3 separate regions of the Homo sapiens genome follow, and regions 2 and 3 are each linked to region 1. Evidence: promoter capture Hi-C in human tissues and cell types (Jung and others, 2019). All regions are on one chromosome and are shown on one strand. Each heading gives the region's core, a stretch centred on a gene start or on the middle of the fragment in contact. The rest is flanking DNA. Distances are from core to core; before and after follow the strand shown. Region 1 holds the start of NDUFA7 (NADH:ubiquinone oxidoreductase subunit A7). Region 2 overlaps HNRNPM (heterogeneous nuclear ribonucleoprotein M). Region 3 overlaps HNRNPM (heterogeneous nuclear ribonucleoprotein M).

The links. Contacts are between HindIII fragments. The study calls those that stand out against the background at their distance.
Region 2: a fragment that was not itself captured here is called in contact with the fragment with the promoter of NDUFA7 in region 1 in 7 of the 25 tissues and cell types used here (aorta, bladder, dorsolateral prefrontal cortex and 4 more).
Region 3: a contact is called between a fragment that was not itself captured here and the fragment with the promoter of NDUFA7 in region 1, in 3 of the 25 tissues and cell types used here (dorsolateral prefrontal cortex, mesenchymal stem cells and pancreas).

Annotation. Positions count from the first base shown.
Region 1 is chr19:8,318,772-8,323,597 of GRCh38, forward strand. NDUFA7 (NADH:ubiquinone oxidoreductase subunit A7) reads right to left here and starts at 2,604. Exons shown (of 4, transcript NM_005001.5): 1 at 2,537-2,604; 2 at 2,086-2,135. The coding sequence starts at 2,587. RPS28 (ribosomal protein S28) reads left to right here and starts at 2,725. Exons shown (of 4, transcript NM_001031.5): 1 at 2,725-2,798; 2 at 2,885-2,932; 3 at 3,182-3,320; 4 at 3,501-4,569. The coding sequence starts at 2,760. The coding sequence ends at 3,304. It overlaps KANK3 (KN motif and ankyrin repeat domains 3), which reads right to left. Exons shown (of 11, transcript NM_198471.3): 11 at 3,813-4,151. The coding sequence ends at 4,068. RefSeq lists enhancers at 724-1,691, 1,692-2,659, 2,514-2,753, 2,660-3,627, 3,628-4,593. The HindIII fragment of the contact is 5,252 bases long and covers 1-4,109 here.
Region 2 is chr19:8,480,765-8,485,590 of GRCh38, forward strand. HNRNPM (heterogeneous nuclear ribonucleoprotein M) reads left to right here. Exons shown (of 16, transcript NM_005968.5): 13 at 2,394-2,447. Among named protein-coding and RNA genes, the nearest start is that of PRAM1, 19 kb to the right of the region's middle. The HindIII fragment of the contact is 4,267 bases long and covers 791-4,826 here.
Region 3 is chr19:8,464,957-8,469,782 of GRCh38, forward strand. HNRNPM (heterogeneous nuclear ribonucleoprotein M) reads left to right here. Exons shown (of 16, transcript NM_005968.5): 6 at 368-559; 7 at 1,279-1,432; 8 at 2,579-2,628; 9 at 3,818-3,878. Among named protein-coding and RNA genes, the nearest start is that of HNRNPM, 22 kb to the left of the region's middle. The HindIII fragment of the contact is 3,658 bases long and covers 366-4,023 here.

The sequences.
Region 1 (4,826 bases), core at 1,354-3,853:
ACCATCCTGGCAAACATGGTGAAACCCCGTCACTACTAAAAATACAAAAATTAGCTGGGTGTGGTGGTGCACGCCTGTAGCCCCAGCTACTCGGGAGGCTGAGGCAGGAGAATCACTTGAACCCGGGAGGCGGAGATTGCAGTGATCTCAGATCCGCCACTGCACTCCAGCTTGGCGACAGAGTGAGACTCTGTCTCAAAAAAGAAAAAAAAAAAAAGACCAATAAAACATCCAGATGAATCACTAGAGGGTGCCGTCATCCTAAAAAAGTCAAAACTTTCACAAAGCCATTTCCTCAACTGGCCCACAACTACCCTGATAGAAAGCCAACTAGGGGGGTCGGGGGTTGGGGGGGAGAGAGCATCAGGAAGAATAGCTAATGGATGCTGGGCTTAATACCTAAGTGATAGGTTGATCTTTGATCTTTGCAGCAAACTACCATGGCACGTTTACCTTTGTAACAAAACTGCAAATGTACCCCAGAACTTAACGTTAAAGTTGAAAACAAGCCGGGCGCAGTGGCTCACACCTGTAATCCCAGCACTTTGGGAGGCCGAGGCAGGCGGATTATGAAGTCAGGAGTTCGAGACCAGACTGGCCAACATGGTGAAACCCCGTTTCTACTAAAAATACAAAAAATTAGTCAGGCGTGGTGGCACATGCCTGTAATCCCAGCTACTTGGGAGGCTGAGGCAGGAGAATCGCTTGAACCCGGGAGATGGAGATTGCAGTGAGCTGAGATTGTGCCATTGCACTCCAGCCTGGGCAATAAGAGCAAAACTCCGTCTCAAAAAAAAAAAAAAAAAAAAGTTGAAAACAAAGTTTGATACTTCTAATATTTGGAATTAGTCACAACATATAGGCATTTACATAAATTTCATTATTTTAATGCTATTTTTCTTCCTTTCATTATAATCCTCAATGACTGCCTTACCTCTGCCTACCCTTTGACTTCATAGATTATACCATTATCCCTTTCCCTCAATGGGTTCCATCCATACTGGCCTCCTTCCACTCAGGCTCTGTCCAGCCTGACACTCTTAGCCCTTCCTGTTCCCTCTGCTCAGAATGTTTTTTCTTTTTTATTTTTTTGAGACAGAGTGTTGTTCTGTCACCCAGGCTGGAGTGCAGTGGTGCGATCTCAGCTCACTGCAATATCCACCTCCTGTGTTCAAGCGATTCTCCTGCCTCAACCTCCCGAGTAGCTGGGACTACCCGCGCGCGCCACCACGCCCGGCTAATTTTTGTATTTCTAGTAGAGAGGGGGTTTTACTGTGTTTCACTGTGTTGGCCAGGCTGGTCTCAAACTCCTGACCTCGTGATCCGCCTGCCTCAGCCTCCCCAAGTGCTGGGATCACAAGCGTGAGCCACCGCGCCCGGTCAGAATGTTTTTTCAATAATTATTCTTTGAATGGGTCCTTCCCATCATTCAGGGGACTCAACTGTCAATTTCCAAAGAAAGATCTTTCCCAATCATCTGACTTTACGTAGCCACCCTCCAGCTTCCACTTATTTTGTTTTGTCTTCAAAGCATTCCAGAACAATACTACCTGCTGTGTTTGTTTCCCTACTATGCTTCTCCCTAGAATGTGGCGTCCATGAAAGAATGTGGATAAGAACTTTCCTGGTTCACAAAGTTAAACCCAAGGCTGAGGTCATACATGACGGGGGCTTGTAAATATCAACTAATATTTTAATATAAATGAGTCTGAAATCAGGACACTTCTGGGTTCAAGTCCCCGCTGCCACTTTTTAGCTTCTGAGTGACTTGAGGCAAATGATTTCGCCTCTCTGGACCTCTTTTTTCATCTGTAGCTTGGGGATAACACTGACTAACATGGCCACGCTGAGCACTGCAAATCTAGCCTGATTGCCAGTCAGAATGCACGCCCGGCCTCGCTGTTTCAGGAGGGCTGTCCTCCGGAGTTCAGCAAGGTTAAAGGCAAACCTCTGCCTCCACAGCCTGGCAGGGGACTGGTGGCAGGATGTCAGCCCTCCGTTTCAGGGGTCTAAAGGAACACAGATTTCGTTTTTGGTGGAGAAAGGACAGAGCCAGAGGCTGGGCAGCGAGCGGGGCCTGCTCACCGCTTGGAGATCTCCTGGTAGCGTAGCTGCAGCTTCCCCTGCAGGTCATGCTGTGGGAAGAGGAGAGGAGAGGTCGGCCTGCAAGGCACCCCAGGAGAGAGGAAAGGAGAGGGCAAGGGACCAGGGATGGTCCGGGGATGCGCATTTTAAGGGAAGGCAGGGGATGAACACTCGGGGAAACGGATGTGGGTCCTGCAGGTGAAGAGCAAAGCCAGAGTCCGGGCCCACAGATCCAAGGCTAAGAAGGTCGGGGACTGGGGAAATCCCAGGCCTGAGTGGTTCCCAGGCCAGGAGAGGGTCCCGGGCTGAAGGGGTGACTAGCTGGGGGTTCCCAGGGAGATTCGGGGAGAGCGAAGGGTCCCGGCTTAGGAGGGAGGTGAGGAGCAGGAGCGGGTCCCGGACACACGGAGCCCGAAGCCCCCCATGGTGCAGCCCTGTCCGCCCCGCGCACCCCGGACGCCCAGTTCCGCAGCCGCTGGATGAGACGGGTGGCGGACGCCATCTTCCGTCCGCGATACTGAAGGGCGCAGCCGGTGACGTCTCCACCGCTGGGGCTGCTGGGAAAGACGCGGCGTGGTATCGCGAGACGGGAGTGGGCGGTGCTAGAACGTCCTATAAAGGCTCTCCCCGAAGCACGTGACTCCTCTCCGCCAGACCGCCGCCGCGCCGCCATCATGGACACCAGCCGTGTGCAGCCTATCAAGCTGGCCAGGGTGAGGTGGGGGCCCGAATTTGGGGGCAGGGGGAGGGATTAGAGGAGCCAAACGGGCCGGGTCTGAACCCAGCTTCTTTCCTCCAGGTCACCAAGGTCCTGGGCAGGACCGGTTCTCAGGGACAGTGCACGCAGGTAATCGGGTGGGGGCATTTGGCCGACTGCCGGCGACCTAAACCCTGATGTGACCTCTACCCTGCCCTAACCCCTGCCAGCCGGAATCCGGGAGCCGATTCTCATTTCATCACGGGGTTCTGATGGTTCCCTTTAACGATCTGTATTCTGGCCCCGACACGTTCTCTGAATTCATATCTGCTTCCCACTCCGCGGTGCCTTTCCGCGGCCCGCCCTTACTTCTTCCTCCACTCCGGTGGGGACCCGTAGGTGCGCGTGGAATTCATGGACGACACGAGCCGATCCATCATCCGCAATGTAAAAGGCCCCGTGCGCGAGGGCGACGTGCTCACCCTTTTGGAGTCAGAGCGAGAAGCCCGGAGGTTGCGCTGAGCTTGGCTGCTCGCTGGTGGGTGCAAAGAGGACACCCCTTTGATAGACCTTTGGTTGGTGGTAGGGAGGCTTCGTTAAGCCCAGGGTGAGAGGGTTTGGGAGGCAGAGTCTACATACAGAGACTGACAAGAGGGAGGCGGGAGTTTGCCAATTGCTGCGGGGCCTGTCAACATCTCATGTTTGGGTCTGTTTACAGGGTCTTGGATGTCGGGTTCGACCACTTGGCCGATGGGAATGGTCTGTCACAGTCTGCTCCTTTTTTTTGTCCGCCACACGTAACTGAGATGCTCCTTTAAATAAAGCGTTTGTGTTTCAAGTTAACTCAGGTTCTTGTCTGGGTTATACGACTAGGGTTTCTCCAGGTTTCTTGAGTGGCTCCCAGGCGGTCACCGATCCTCCGCACTCTGGAAATCCTGGCCGTGCGGTCTTGCCAAACGAAGCTTTTCCTTTTTGAGGCGGGGGGTCGTGTTTGTCGATTGCACCCTCTACCCCAAACAAAACACAAGCGTAGTAGGAATGTTTTATTAGCAAAGAAGTTTCAGAGAGTGGGTGGATCAGGGCTCTATCACTTGGTCCCCACCTCACCTTGGTGGGGCCAGAGTGAGCCCCTTCCTGCCACAGTCACCCCAACTGAAATTGCCTTTCTCTTCGGCCAGTGTTAGCCTCTGAGCAGGGGACCCTGGACCCTTCTGTGCGCCAAAGGCTGAGGTGACTGACGAGGAGATCTCCCCACAGCTAGGTGTAGTGAGCCAGACGAGGCAGCTTACTGAACCTGGGGGTTCTCTCCATTGTCACCGCATTCTCCTTCACCAGGTGTGGCTGTCTGGGAGCCAGGGGGTGACTCGCTCTGGAGAGAGGGGAAAAGAGGGGGGCCTGCTGCAATCTCCTTGAGGCAGGAAACGTGGGATTCAGCCCCAGCCTCACTTAGTGGAGGTTCTTTTACCATGGACCCAGGCTGCCTGGTTTGTATCCAACCTCTGCCCCTTCTGACCTGGAAGAGGCGCTTGACCTTCCTCCCACATCCCTTCCAGTGGGGTGAGTACAGGTGTTCCTCAGTTTACAATGGGTTACATTCCGGTGAGTACATCATAGGTTGAAAGTATTGCAAGTTGAAATGTGTTTAATACACCTAATCTCCCAAACATCACAGCTTAGCATGGTCCATCTTAAGCTTGTTCAGAACGCCTTAGCCTGTAGTTGGGGAAACTCGTCTAACACGAAGCCTGTTTTAATAAAGTATTGAATGTCTTATGTAATTTATTGAATACTCTGCTGAAGTGTGGTTTTTACTAAGCACACATTGCTTTTATGCTATCATGAAGTCAAAAAATTGTAAGTTGTGCCAGGCGCGATGGCTCACAGCTGTTGTAATCCCAGCTACTTGGGAGGCTGAGGCAGGAGAATTTCTTGAACCTGGGAGGTGGAGGTTGCAGTGAACTGAGATTGTGCCGCTGCACTCCAGCCTGGGTGACAGAACGAGACTCTTGTCTTCAAATGAAAAAAAAAAATTAGCTGGGCATGG
Region 2 (4,826 bases), core at 1,674-4,173, 160 kb after region 1:
GCTTTTTGGAGTGGCACATGAGTGGCACAGAGAGGTGGATGTGGGCTTCTTGCCTTTGAGGTCACTTCATGTGGCCACAGGAAACTGTTCCTGTCCTGACCGGCAGGGCGCCACCTCTCCCGCTGCGGTTACACCTTCTTTCTGATTGGGACTGTGCGATCTCTGTCCCGGAATTCCCTCCTGCCGCTGTGATCAGACCTACATGAGTAAGGTGATCTCGTCAGGTTCTCAGAGTGGTTGGGTTGGTTTTTCAAGATTCAATTCTTGACCTCTTTCCCGTGTCCTTTGCCATGAGAGGTGAACCATTGTGGTGCTCCTTTCCATAGTGCTTTCCTACTCGGTGCCCCTTCCTGTGCCTAGGCAGTAGATCTTTGCACTCCTTTGTGCAAACAGCTGTACTTGCTGCTTCAAAAATTTGGATAGGCCTGTGGTCTTTGGCCTTCAAGGATGAGGTGTAGCTGAGGCGATACTAAGGGTGGCTTGGGACATCGCCAGAGGTCTGTGCATCCAAGTGGCCTAGTGAGGACGCTGGTGGAGACGTTGGTTGCCAGATGCTGCTCAGGGCATTGGCTCTGCTAGGGGGCTCAGCAGGCTTGGCACAGGCAGCAGGTGTGCGCAGATAGAGCGGCTGGCGGCGGTGGGTGCAGGTCTCTGTGAGGCAGGGGAGGAGCATGGGCAGAACAGGCTCCAGTTGTGGTCTGTGGGGAGGCCTGTGAATGCCGATGGGAGAATTCCGCCATTCTCTGCAAATCAGTGGCATGTTGGTTGAAAGCTTTTGCAGCTGTCTTGCAGGTGTGTTAGTTGGAAGCTTGATCTAGTTCAGGGGTGTGCACGGGAGAATATAGTCATGGGTTCTCAGTTGGTTTCTGTTTGGGTCAGTAAAGCCCCTTATCCCTCTTTTCCACTTATTACTAGAGACAGAAACTTAAAAACCATGGTTTCAGGCTGCCAAAAAGCCTAAAACAGAACAAAGCAAAGTAAGACGTGTTGGACAAGCTTGGTCTAGGTGCTGGAAAGCCAGCCTCGGCTCAGGCATGCCGGGCAGGATCGCAGGCGTCCCGGGAGAATGAGCTGTACCTGCTGGTAGACTGAAGTCTGTGTCTCTTGGTGAACTTTCCCACCTTGTCCCACAGCAGTTAGTTGGGATATAAGAAGCAGCTGTGTGGGGTGCAGGTGCTTTTGTTGTTGTTGTTGTTTGGTGTCTTTTTTTTTTTTTTTTTTTTTCTTAGAGACAGAGTCTCACTCTTGCCCAGGCTGGGGTGCAGTGGCACGATCTCGGCTCACTGCAACCTCTGCCTCCAGGGTTCAAGCGATTCTCCCGCCTCAGCCTCCTGAGTAACTGGGATTACAGGCACCTGCCATCATACCCGGCTAATTTTTAGTAGAGACGGGGTTTCACCATGTTGGCCAGGCTGATCCTGACCTCAGGTGATCCACCCGCCTTGGCCTCCCAAAGTGCTGGGATTACAGGCATGAGCTACTGCGCGGCCGGGGGACAGGTTTTAATGGCTTTGTGGCCGTGGTCATAAAGCGAAATGTGCCTCGTGGCTAATGTCCAAGTTGCTGAGCATATACTTTGAGACCAGAGCGGGTGGGTACAAGTGTCTTCTACATAGCAAAAGATGGACCAGAAGCTTGGAAAGGTAATGCTATGATAGCATCAGACAAACCTTAAAGAGGTGTGGGTGCACCGTGGGCAAGTGAGCAGCAGCACTGTGTTTGGGATACTTGGTGGGGGGTGCAATTTAGGTATTTTCCTGAAACCTTATCTGTTGCCTAGTCACAGCACACCCAGCTCATTTCAGGCAAGGCTGGCATGCTCAAGGATTTCCGCGCAGAGCTCATTTGTTAGCGTTGAGGTTGTCCGTGGAGCTGCAGCTTTAATTTGCTCTATGATAATGAGAGGTGCCTCTGGGTGGATAAATGTGGGCTCCAAGTGGGTGATGCTGGGCGGTCTTCTGAACAAGAAGTTGGCTGGGGTGGGGGTGGGGGCTTACTTTCCAGCTCAGGGGAGGCAAGGAAGCCTCAGTCCTGAGAGCCTGGACCAGCTTTAGAAAACTGCCGCTGAGCGAGACCCGATGGCCCTCTTCTTGCTCTGGCTCTCAGTTCATGAATGCATATGACTCCTATCTCTGCTGGGCGCATTCGCAGGTGACCCCGCACGCTGGGCCTCAGACTCTGGAGCTACGTGGGGTCTTGGCATCGTGACCCAGCATCAAGGACTCTCCTAGTTCTCTGTAAAATGATCTTGTCTGTGCGTGTGTTTCTCAAACCCCTTTCCCTTTATCTTGTCATTTTTATTAGTAGTATTTCTACTCTGGAATCTGTAATGAGCACATTTCTATTGCCATAGAGGAATTTGGCTAATTTTTTTTTCTTCCTGATTTCCTTAGAAATCCTAAGTAATGCACTGAAGAGAGGAGAGATCATTGCAAAGCAGGGAGGAGGTAGGAACCGCTTAGTTTGATGTTTTGTTTTTTTAGAACAGGCTGTTATCGCTGGGGACTGTAGAGCTTAGTGGTGAGAAGTGCGGGTTCTGACACAGACTGCCCGGGGTGGGAGCAGCTCTGCCTTTTTCTAGCTGTGTGACGTTTGGCAAGTCACTGAACCTCTCTGTTTCTCATAGCACTCATTTGTAAAATGGGGGTGTAATAGTACCTGCCTCAGGGATGCTGTGGAGAGTGAATGCATGTGAAAGAGTGCTTCCGCACGTGCTGTGCACAGGCCGACCATCTTCATTGTTAGAGTACCTCTCTTTTGGGGGTTTTGTTTTCCACATTATAAATTCCTAAAAGTAAATATATTTTCCTTAGACTTGATGATAAGACTGAAAGCACACCACCCAACAAGTAATAAATGCTTGTAAAATAGATAAATGTACTCATTAGGAAAATATGAAGAAAGTATGGTCTGAAACCCCATCGCCCAGTGATGACTGCCGGAAACATTTTGTTCTGAATCTTTCATTCATACACAGCTTTATGGATACTGAGAACAAAATGTACTTTTTGAGCATTTTTGGAGACAGTCTCGCTCTGTCTCCCAGGCTGGAGTGCCGTGGTGCAGTCTCTGCTCACTGCGGCCTCAACTTCCCAGGCCTAAGCGATTCTCCCACTTTAGCCTCCCAAGTAGCTGGGACTACAGGCGTGTGCCACCTGGTTTGGCTAATTTTTTGATTTTTTTTGTAGAGATGGCATTTTGACATGTTACCCAGGCTTATCTCAAACTCCTGGCCTCAAGTGACCTGCATACCTCCAGAGTGCTGGGATGACAGATGTGAGCCACCACACCTGGCCCAAATGTACTTTTTCAGCCTGATTTTCCCTCTGAGTATCTTGGCATCTCACCTCCTGACTTCTGTGTTGGGCTGGCTCTGGAGCTCCACGCTGGTACCATTTCCTCCCATTTCTTTTTTTTTTTTTTTTTTTGAGAGACGGAGTCTCACTCTGTCGCCCAGGCTAGAGTGCAGTGGCACGATCTCGGCTCACTGTGACCTCCGTCTCCTGGGTTCAAGCGATTCTCCTGCCTCAGCCTCCCAAGTAGCTGGGACTACGGGCGCACGCCACCATACCCAGCTAATTTTTGCAATTTTAGTAGAGATGGGGTTTCACCATGTTGGCCAGGCTGGTCGCGAACTCCTGACCTTGTTCCGCCCGCCTTGGCCTCCCAAAGTACTGGGATTACAGGCATGAGCCACCACACCCAGCTGCCCCACCTCATTTCTGATGCCTTTGGGCAAAGTGCCCATTCTCGCTAGGTTCCTTATACTGTGGGGAAGTTCTGAGACGTCTCCCCTCTGAAAGTCACACATTCTTAGAGTCGGGCCTGCTTTGGCCGCTCACTGTGTGCTGTGCAGCTAGAGAAGCAGGCGCGGTGTGGCCAGTTACAGAGCCAGTTAGAGAAACTGCCCAGTTTCCTCTTGAATTGGTATCTTTGACTAGGCTGCTTGGGTCGGTCACAGGCTGGCTCTGGGCTGATGGCCACTCTCAGAGGCAAGCGACAGGGTTTCGGGGAGGAGCCCCAAACTCGGCATGTGGAAAGGGGTGGCCTTGCTGACGGAGCCAGACCCTGCTTTCCAGAGTTGCAAGCACCACGGGTGGGGGCGTCCCTTCGTTCTGCTGACTGACCCCCAGCCGCTACCAGAGCCCACTCTGCAGTGCCATCAACATCTTCTTTCCAAAGCCAGCAAGTCATTTGGTTTCCCTGACAATAGGGTCCCCAAAAGTGGCCAGCTGTGTGCATTTGTACACAGAGGATCTCTCGGTGTGTGTTTTTTTGACCTCTGCTTGATGGTGTGGCCGAAAATCCTTTCTCTGTGCCCTGGGAGCGCTGAGGAAATGCAGCCAGAGTGGCCCCCAGCAGAGCATCCTAGAGGGACAGGCTGGGAGGGGAAGGTGGGAGTGACTCCGACTTGTCTCCACATAACTCCTGTTCATTACCCTGGGTGGCCCCCCGAGTGGGGGGTGTCCATGCCTCCCCCTGGAGCATTTCTCAGTGTCTGCTGATGGAGAAACCTCAGATGTCTCAGGAATTGACGTCCATGGTTCACAAAGCTTGTCACAGACACTAGCACCTCACAGACACACATACAGGGGTGTTCTTTAGAAGTTGTGTTATGGAAATCTCAGCTGTGGCATAGAGCAGAGAGAATGCTGGGAGGCCCCCATGTGCCCACCACACAGCTGTAGCTGTTGTCAACATTTGAGGGGTGTCTTAATGGTAAATTATGGTGGGCCTTTACCCCTGATCCATGCCCATGAGCTGAAGTGGTCTGGCGTGTTGTGCACACGCACACTCAAGTTCTTGACACCCACCTGTGTTTTGTG
Region 3 (4,826 bases), core at 945-3,444, 150 kb after region 1:
AACCCCATTGATGAATTAGTAAGATTCAGCTATACCAAGCCCATGAAGCTCTAATTTCAGTCTGGCGGTTCTACATTATATCAGCTAATCATGTTTCCCTCCCTACCCTGCTTTTCTTTTTTACTTAGTGCAATTGAGAGCTGTGTTTTTAGTGCTACACTTCATGCCTTTTCTTCCTTTCCTATTTCTTTAGCTGGACTCTTCTAAGCTGGTAGTTGAGTTCATTTGACTTTCTTGTTAATAGATTTGAGAGATGCTTTCCAAACAACCTTTCAGTTTCTAAGTCTTGAGAATATCATTTACTGTGCAAGCATGGTTTGCGTTGTACTGGGTCAGTTAAACGTAACACCTTTTGTGCTTGTTTTAGGATCCTGATGGTGAACATGCCAGGAGAGCAATGCAAAAGGTGATGGCTACGACTGGTGGGATGGGTATGGGACCAGGTGGCCCAGGAATGATTACTATCCCACCCAGTATCCTAAATAATCCCAACATCCCAAATGAGATTATCCATGCATTACAGGCTGGAAGACTTGGAAGCACAGTATTTGTAGCAAATGTAAGTAAACAGAACCATCGTCTAAAGTAGAAAATCAGAACTTTATGAAATGACCTTGTCAATATGTTATAAAAGTAATTCTCACATTTGAGAAGAAAAATGTAAAGAAGGGTTTTGTTCTTGATTTCTTTAAAAATCAGCCTTATAGGCGGGCTTTGTCTGCATTCCTAAGTCACAGGCTTGACCGTGGTCTCGTTGGGGCTGTGATTCCTGAGTTTCGCAGGTGTTTCCGCAAGCAGTAACCGAGTCTGCATTCTCCGTTGGTTTATTTTATGCAGTTTTGGTGCAGAGTAAGACTGTACGAGCAGAAGTGCACTGACACCTTCCTCTTGTTGTGTCTGGGGTGAATGATAATACCTCCACCATCTGCAAGGGGAAATATTTTTAGAATAAAGTAGGTTGGGTGGGGTGGGGAGTGGTAAAGCTTATCAGGGAAACAATTTTTTAAAAATGTTCAGAAAATGAGTATTAATTTGAAGTATGAGGTGACTTAAGTTTCTGAGAAAAGAGACAATATATTTACTATAGGTACAGTTTATTTACAGTGAAGGCCAGGCTTTATAATCCTATTTTAAAATTTCCATTGCAGTTGATTAGTTTTTGTGACATTATTTCCTAATACTTTTTTCCAACCAAAGCATGTATCATTCATGTAGTAAAAATGTTGTGTTTCTTAAGATGTTTACATTGAGGTTTTTACCCCGTTCTCTCTCGATTAGCTGGATTATAAAGTTGGCTGGAAGAAACTGAAGGAAGTATTTAGTATGGCTGGTGTGGTGGTCCGAGCAGACATTCTTGAAGATAAAGATGGAAAAAGTCGTGGAATAGGCACTGTTACTTTTGAACAGTCCATTGAAGCTGTGCAAGCTATATGTATCCTTCTGCAGGAATTCAACTTATGAACAGTTTGACCTAAATTGCTGTGTTAGTAATGTAGGTTTGTGTGAGGAAGAGGTGACTGTGTGTATTCATGTTTTTTATGTGACTAGGGGGAGTGCATTACTGTGGAATTAAGAGGTTCTCTGGGCCGGACCGGTCACGGTGGCTCACGCCTGTAATCCCAGCACTTCGGGAGGCCAAGGCGGGCGGATCACTTGAGGTCAGTTCGAGACCAGCCTGGCCAACATGGTGAAACCCCGGCTCTACTAAAAAATGCAAAAATTAGCTGGGCGCAGTGGTGGGTGCCTGTAATCCCAGCTACTCGGGAGGCTGAGGCACAAGAATCGCTTGAACCCGGGAGGTGGAGGTTGCAGTGAGCCGAGATTGCGCCACTGCACACCACCAGCCTGGGTGATAGAGTGAGACTCAGTCTCAAAAAAAAAAAAAAAAAAAAAAAAGGTTCTCTGGGGGTGGAATTGATTCAATACAGTGTGGATAGAGGGGATGGTTACAACATGGGCATATGCCCATGAGTCTTTCTACTGTTTTCTTTTCAGAAGAGTCTAGGTTTGAAGGAGGAAGTCCAAAGAATGTGCTACTAGAGAGAAAGTGGGGTTGTTGTTTCATGTGTAATACATCCTTATAGGACCTCACTCTTTCCAGTGAGTAGACATCATTTTGGAAGAGGCCACTTCTCCTTGACCCTAGGCTTAGCCTAGAGTTTTTAATCCCTTGGAGAGTACCCCACAGGAGCACATTCATACAACTCAGACAAGACCGTCACTGCATGTCTTACCCAGAAAACATGGTCCTTCAGTTTAGATAGTGGTAGATGCCTGGCCCATTGGTCACATTCAGAGAACCTTGATGCCACTGCTTAAGAGGATGGTTTGGTGAAATTGTAAGGTTACGAATGAAGCTTCACACCTAAGGAATAAGCGGAAGTTGTCTTGTCCTCCCCGCCAGCTTTATTTATTGTTCCTTTTATGTTTATTGTTGAAAGTATAATGAAGAATTGAAATTGCTCATAAATTCATCACTTAGAGGGACTGGTAGCAGTTGGAGTATTTTTCTTTCTTTTTGTATTTCTCTTGTGCACATTTTTAGAATTGCAAGAAATAGCCTTAATTGTAATACCAGCTATGTTCAATGGCCAGCTGCTATTTGATAGACCAATGCACGTCAAGATGGTAAGTCAGTAGGATCTTTCTCTGTGATATACTCAAGTCTAGCAAAAACATGGAATTAATAAGAGTGTACATATAGCCACTATGAAATATTTGTGGATTAGTCTAAGTTAAATAGGGTGCAGTATGTTGAGCAAAATTGTGAGAGAAATAACATTTTGCTGGTCAGGCGTGGTGGTTCACGCCTGTAATCCCAGCACTTTGGGAGTCTGAGGCAGGCGGATCATGAGGTCAGCAGTTCGACACCAGCCTGACCAACGTGGTGGAACTCCTCCGTCTCTACTAAAAATACAAAAATTAGCCGGGCGTGGTGGCACGCGCCTGTAGTCCAGCTACTCGGGAGGCTGAGGCAGGAGAATCACTTGAACGTGGGAGGCAGAGGCTGCAGTGAGCCGAGATCGTGCCACTGCACTCCAGCCTGGGCAACAGAGTGAGACTCTGTCTCAAGAAAAAAAAAGAAGAAAAAAAAACATTTTGCTCATGGCAGCTCTTGACTGCATTAGATATTTTTCCTTTTGCACAGTTGACTGTTCATGGCGCATTCAGGAAGTCACCTGGGTATCCTGGTTGAGCAAGTGATCCGTTTCAAAGAATGGTTATATATGTGGGGTTCCAGTTTTTCAAAGTATTACAGTATAATGTTTGGTTAGCATCAAATCTGTTGTGAACATAATTAAGTCATTGATTCAGACAGCTTTTAAAGGTCTGTTGGAGCACTTCAATCTTAATAAACATTTGCTCTGCCGTAACTGTGCCAAAGATAATAATTACTACAGGCATGACTGGAACATGCTGAGGGCAGTCTAGTTGGGACTCAAATTCAGGAAAAAGATAAACTATAAAGCAATTTTTTCATTACTCTAAATAGAGTAGGTAAGTTTTTTGAATAGATGATAGATTCACGTGACTCAAAAGTCAAAAGGCATGAAAAGGTAGTGTGAAGATAGTGTGAGTCCTACTTGGACTTCTTGCCCAGGTCCCCATCATCCCCCACAATAATATCCATGTGTCTTTTCCCTTGACATAAAATAGGAAGCATGCTCCGCATGCCTTTCTACCCTTGCGTATTACTCCATGGCGTGGATAATGTGTTTAGCTGGTCCTCTCTTGATGGGGGGCCATTTCAGTCTTTTGCTGTTGCAAACACTGCTGCACTGGATACTGAGATTTGTTTGTTTTCTTTCTCTTTCAGGATGAGAGGGCCTTACCAAAAGGAGATTTCTTCCCTCCTGAGCGTCCACAACAACTTCCCCGTAAGTGTTTCAGTGATTAGGGCTGAGAGTTTGAATTGGAGTTACACTAATAAACAGAAAATTACCATATGGTTTCACTTGAACCTGTGCCAGGTTAGCCCTCAGTTCTCTTGGCCAGTTCTTTTCTATAGATTTTTCAGGGTGAGAAATGAGCAGAGATTCACAACTTGAGGATATTGTTAGGATTACCTCATGGTAATCCTAGGATTGTAATACCAGGATGTAGAGGATGTGGTTAGGCATTTTGAAAGTGTCCTGGGGAAGGAAGAATCAGAACCTGTGAAGGGAATGAAAACCAGGCTGCACTCTAATTCAGAAGATACTGGTTAGTCCCATGTGGGCTAGCAGTGCACACTAGACATCTGCACAGAAATTCGCACGCAGATGTTTGCAGCAGGATGAAAGACACATGCTGCAGTGTGGATGAACCTCGATTTCATCTACAGGAAATGCTCCGCATAGATAAATGCATAAAGGCAGAAAGTAGATTAGTGGTTGCCTGAGGCCGGGAAGGAGTAAGTAGGGACGGGACTGCTAATAAGGTTGGATTTCTTTTTTGGGTGATGAAAATGTTCTGGAATTAAATGGTAGTGATAGTTGCATATCTCTGAATATACTAAAAACCACCGAATACTTTGAGTTTTATGGTATGTGAAGTGTCTTGAACAAATAATTTGTATGCAGAGGGGAAAGGGATCAGCTATTTGTGACACCCAGGTGAAAATCTGTCTCGTGACAGGGAAGGCTAGTTGATGGGCTACCACATAGGTAGAAGTGGCAAATATTAGTGCAGAGTCATAGATAAGCCAGAGGCTGGAAGCAAGAACCTCAGTGCATACAGCGGTGGGACGACTCAGGGAATCACTGGCGCAGGTAAAGCTCTCCTGGAGAAGAAAGATGGATGAGGGTGAGAGGCCTGTGTGTGCTGTGCTGGGGTGACCTCCACCA